Regions from separate parts of the Homo sapiens genome. Here region 2 is linked to region 1. The links are contacts of gene promoters, found by promoter capture Hi-C in human tissues and cell types (Jung and others, 2019). All regions are on one chromosome and are shown on one strand. The core of a region is centred on a gene start or on the middle of the fragment in contact, and the rest is flanking DNA. Distances in the headings are between cores, read along the strand shown.

Region 1 (2,745 bases), core at 161-2,660:
TTTCACCTAAAATACCATTTAAATTTTCTACAACACTTGACTATACAACGGCCAGCTTGCACCACTACAGAAATAGGAAGCTAGCAGCAACTAGTAAAAAGCAAGGGACATTCTGTGGTGATCAGTACTGACCTGGGAACTTTGCAGTTTTCAGATTTTTCATGTTTGACATTTAAAACAGAAAACTGACAAGTTTCTAATAAGAAACTAAAAGTTACATCAGAATTGATCTTCTTGCATGTGTTTAATGGCTACGAAGTGGATATTACAAAGTGCAGTTGAAGACTCTATCTCCAAAGAAACAATCGAGCAATCAAAGATGAGCTAGGATAGCTTGTAAGGGAACAGAAGGCAGTCCTTTCTATTCTGAAAGGCAGAAGAAATAGGAGAAACCTGTCAAACAACCTGGATGAAATCAAGGAGTTAACAAGCAACACTCATTTCCTTTAGCACTGTGAGAAAATTCCGGTTGCTAATAGAAAGCTGAGGAAAGTTTGGTTTGGCTTGTTTCATTTTGTTTTCCTTCCAAATCATCACTGAGTATGAACGACTGCTTTCCTCTCCTCACATTACTCAGTAAAAACTCCCCCATTGAATTGTCTTCCGGTGCCCTGCTCCCCAGCCTCCCAGAACGGCCCCCGCCCCCGCCTCCCTCCCAGCAAACGTGCTCAGACGCCTCTGGGCTTGTTGTGGTCTCGCCAGTCTGCGGACAAGCGCTCCAAACTCAATGGACAATGGAGCTCACCCCCGTCAACGCGAACTACAAAGCTCAGGAGGGCCATTTCCCTTTTCCTGCCCAGATGCTGTTTTCGCTCCTTCGAAGCAAGATCCCATGCTCGACTAGACGGCCAGTGTGCGCCAGGACCCGCGTGTCTCCTTCCCCACCTGCAGAGCTGCTGAGCCCCTCGGCCCCCAAATAAATTGTACCGCAGCACACAGGCCAAAAAGGGCCCCCCACCACCAGGGGCTTGGCTGGGGACAGTGGCTTCACGGTCCAGGTAGGGATGGAGGGAACGTCTCTTGACGCTTGGTCATGGCCCTCAAGACTAAGCCGTCTCCACTGTTCCCCCTCCCCAGCTCCAACTTGCCTCCCCTCCCCCCACTGCGAGAAGACCTAGGAGGTGCGGGCAGGCAGCACCGCCACCTCTTCCTCCGGTGGAGCGCTCGGCCGACACTCACCCTTTCACCACAAAGAAGGGGTCCTCCATGGACATGGCGTCCCGGCCCCGGCCGCCTTCACCTCCTCCGCGCACAGGGCGCCCGTGCCTCCCGGTCTCCCTCCGCCCACCCCGCCTGTTCCCGCAGCTGCCCGCGCCTTAGTCTGGGTGAAGCCGAGCAGCGGGCACGCGCACAGGCCAGGTGCACAGGACGGCCGCTGGTCCAGCACTCGCTCAGCACCACTGGCCGAATCCCGGACTCGGGCGCCGGCCCCCTCGGCAGCCTCCAGTCCCGGCTCCTCCCGAAGCGTCGGAGGGCCTGACCCCACCCCCGGGACCCTCGGCCGCGGCCAATCACGAACGCCGCCTGAAACACGACTTCCGCACCCCGCTCACGTGACCAGGGCATATATCTCTCTCTCTCTCTCTCTCTCCTCTCTCTCCTCTCTCTCCTCTCTCTCCTCTCTCTCCTCTCTCTCCTCTCTCTCCTCTCTCTCTCTCTCTCTCTCTCTCTCTCTCTCTCTCTCTCCCCCCCCCCCCAGTGGGCGGGGCTTACGCCTGCGTCCCTCGGCCCTGGAGGCGGAGCCCTCGGGGCGGTGGAGGTGGGCGGGCTTCTACAGCCCTCTCCTCAAGCTTGAGGGTGAGGAGTGGCTTGTTCCCTCAGAACTAGGCAGTCGGCTTTTCAGGATAAGCTGTAGTTGTACCTGATTTGCAAAATCCTCTTACCTTTCCTCTACTTTTAATACTTAATTTTGACAGTATGTAATTTATAAATCTATCTGGTCCTCGACTTAAAATGAAGCATAGTATCTGATTATAATGTTACACAGATCCTTTAAGTAGGTCTTGCTTTGTGTTGGACAGTGTGCTAAAGGTTGTGTATGCATCATCTCAGTATCCTTTGGGGGAAAGTATTATTCCCCCCTCCCCCTTTTTGGGGGGCAGGGTCTCTCTCTGTCACCCTGGCTGGAGTGTAGTGGCACAATCACAGCTCACTGCACCCTTGACCTCCTGGGCTCAAGCGATCCTCCGGCCTCAGCCTCCCGAGTAGCTGGGACTACAGGTGAGCGCCACCACGCCCGGCTAATTTTTAAATTTTTTATAGAGATGGGGCTCTCAGTATATTTCCTAGGCTGGCCTTGAACACCTGAGCTCACATGATCCTCCTGCCTCTGCCTCCCAAAGTGGTGGGATTATGGGCGTGAGCCACCACACCATCCATTTTTCTCATTTTGTAGATAAGAAAATAAGTTCAGAGAGGCTTGAAGACTTCCTGTAGTCACACAGCCTGGACAGGGCAGAACTGCAGATTCTGTGCACTTTCCACCAGATGGGGTGTACTTTCTGTTGCTGTACATTCTGCAAATAACCATGTAAAGTAATTTTTCATACAGCATATGGTGCTTCCCAGGAGAGCACACCTTCGAGGAATAAAGAAGGGGCCAGGTATGACAACTTCCTCTCACTGTGGTTCAAGAGCTATTCGAGAAAACATTTTGCCCAGAACCATTAACCAACTCATATGCTAGATATGCTATGAAATTTGTGGATGGGGATTGTGGACTTTGATTGCTGAAAATCATTGAGC
Region 2 (2,745 bases), core at 112-2,611, 120 kb after region 1:
TAAGAACACCACAGAAATGATGCTATTCTCATTTCAGCAAATTGCATGGGGTGGAAGGAGGAGACATAGGATGTCAATCCATTCCACAACTGGAACTGTTTATTTTGATCACCAGTCACGTACCAACGTTTGTCTGCCAGGTTTCTCTCCTATAAAGACCCCATTTACCCCCTTTAAATTGATGGCATTTTGTGGGGAGGTAATCCTGTTCTTTATCAAACTTGCATCTCCCAATCTTAGCCTCCATTGATGTCTCCTGCCAGAATCAACCACAACTATGACAGTTTCCAAATTATGGTTTTCTATTTCCATCATTCCTTTTCATTTTATTAGTTGGTGGGCTACTGTAATACAAAGCTTTCCCATTTTCTATGTTCGTTTGCATATTTATTTCAGTAGGGAATCTTGTTTTATTCAATGGATTGTATTCCATTGCCGTCCTTGTTTATTTTGATGTTCACATTGCTCCAGATATGGCCAGTGGAGTCCCTTCAGCTTGGCTCCTGCCTCCTTCTGACACATCTCCACCATTCTCAGCACTGTCTTACTTTCTGGCACTACAAAATGACCAAGGCTCATCATGGTACTTTTCCTTCTCCAGCCTGGAATTAGCTCTTTCTCCAAGGAGCCCTGCCTTCTTGTAGTGGAGGATGGTGTTTAGGAACCAAAATCTGAGCCCTTAGTGTGCTTCTTGTTACTGAGGTGTCATTGCTTCTAGGCCTGTTGAGTGGACAGATCTAGGAAATATATGTGTGCATATGTACACTCACAGGTGTATACACACATCTACAACTATTTCCATATCTACCTGTGTTTATATATCAGAAAACAGTAAGTCGATGATACTCACACCTCCAGTTCCAATCCACCTCAGTGTTCTTTATAGTTTCCTTCTTTTCTATATTTGTAATTCTCTTCTCCAACAGTAAGAAACCGGACTGTCATTATCCTCAAGATATGTACTTATTTGCTCAATAAGTTTACTTATTTTTGTAACGTAATCAATCTCCCAATGACAGCAGCTGTGTCTTTCACCTCTACTCCCTGTCCCCACCTCTAGTGCCCTGTATCCTTAGGTGCCAGCAGGCATATCATCAGTGAACTCCACACAGCAGCCCCCTCTCTGTCAGTACCCCATAGGGGCCCTATGTGACTCTTCCAGGCCAGGAAGGGAGGGGAAGGAAAAAGAGAAGAAAGGAAGATGAAGCCTGTGTGGATTGTTTTAACTGAATGCCAAAAGGAAGAAGGAGATGCCATTTTGCCTATGCCAGCAAGTGCTTTGTCAAGTATTGATCAATAAGAAAGTACAGATATCAATAAGAAAGTATATACTCATGCATGTACGAATCAGTGATGAATATGACTTTAATACATAATCTAGTTATTTATGTTTAAAAGTAGTACATTGTTGATACTCCTTTCTTCACAAATACCCTAAAACCTTGTAGATGGGGTGGAGTGGGAAATATAAATTATCAGAAATGTGATCAGGAGTCAAAGAAATGCCCAAAGGGCAATTCAGAGTTGCATTCAGGCCTCAGAACAGGACACTTCTCAAAATTTGGGAGACAAAGTTAAAAATAGCTTATCCTGGTGGGCACGGTGGCTCATGCCTGTAATCCCAGCACTTTGGGAAGCTGAGGTGGGCAGATCACTTAGAGCTCAGGAGTTCAAGACCAGCCTGGCCAACACGGCAAAACCCCATCTCTACAAAAATACAAAAAAATTAGCCGGGCATTAGTGGTTCATGCCTGTAGTCCCAGATACTCAGGAGGCTAAGACTGGAGAACCTCTTGAGCTCAGGAAGCAGAGGTTGCAGTGAGCCGAGATTGCACTACTGCACTCCAGCCTGGGCAAGAAAGTGAGACCCTTTCTCAAAAACAACAACAGCAACAAAAACAAAAACAAACTTGTTTATCCTCTGAGGTTGAAGCCAACAAAAAGCAGCCCCAAATAAATGAGATTAACTACCTGTGGGTGGAACTGTCTTGGAAGATGACTTATAATTGACTCCAGGCATCTTTCACATCTCCATGAAGGAGAATGAAGAGCCTTCCAAAATCTTCCTCTGCAGTAGTTCATTCATTCAACACTATTCACCTTGATGTCTGCCGTGTTTTCCCTTGTAACAATGCTATTTATCTCTTTGGAATTGTATGTCAGTTGGCTGAGCACTGGAGGATATAACAGGGAAGAAAACACATTCCTCATAGTCAGAAAGTTCATGGTCTGGAGTGGGAGACAGTGACCAGGGCACTTCAGCATGTGAGCTATGTGCATTGAGAGGCGTGAGCATCTAGCTCTGACTGGGTGGAGGTATGTGGAAAGGTGTGCCAGGGAGGTGACCGCTAAGTGGACACCTGAAGGACTCATGGGAATCAGCCAAGAGAAGGGAGTGGAGGGAATGTTACGGGATGAGTGGCCACATGTCCCAAGGTCTGGAAAAGTGAGAGAGCACGGAGCGCCTGGCCAGTGGCAAGTGGGAATGTCAAGTTTGAGGGGGAATGGGGTGGGGGTGAGATGGAGAGCTAAGCAGGCCTGGATCATCAGAGGTCTTGGAAGCCGTATTTAGGCATTTGGACTTCGTCCTAGGGAGAGCGAGACATCCCTCAAGTGTGATCCGTAGACGTGTGATATGATCATGATCCCATTTTAGAAAAGCTCCCTGACTGTGTACAACAAGTTAGCCATACTCCTGGTTAAGGGCACAGTCTCCACAAGACTGCCCTCACTTCAGACATCAGC

Evidence for each region. The method cuts DNA at HindIII sites, captures the fragments that hold promoters and counts their contacts. A contact is called where the count stands out against the background at its distance.
Region 2: a contact is called between a fragment that was not itself captured here and the fragment with the promoter of STX6 in region 1, in 2 of the 25 tissues and cell types used here (H1 embryonic stem cells and neural progenitor cells).

The regions. Positions count from the first base shown.
Region 1 is chr1:181,021,460-181,024,204 of GRCh38, forward strand. It overlaps STX6 (syntaxin 6), which reads right to left and starts at 1,411. Exons shown (of 8, transcript NM_005819.6): 1 at 1,180-1,411. The coding sequence starts at 1,214. RefSeq lists an enhancer at 1,151-1,934 and silencers at 1,343-1,472, 1,593-1,692. The HindIII fragment of the contact is 9,160 bases long and covers 1-2,745 here.
Region 2 is chr1:181,145,472-181,148,216 of GRCh38, forward strand. No RefSeq gene overlaps it. Among named protein-coding and RNA genes, the nearest start is that of LINC01732, 28 kb to the right of the region's middle. The HindIII fragment of the contact is 3,293 bases long and covers 1-2,745 here.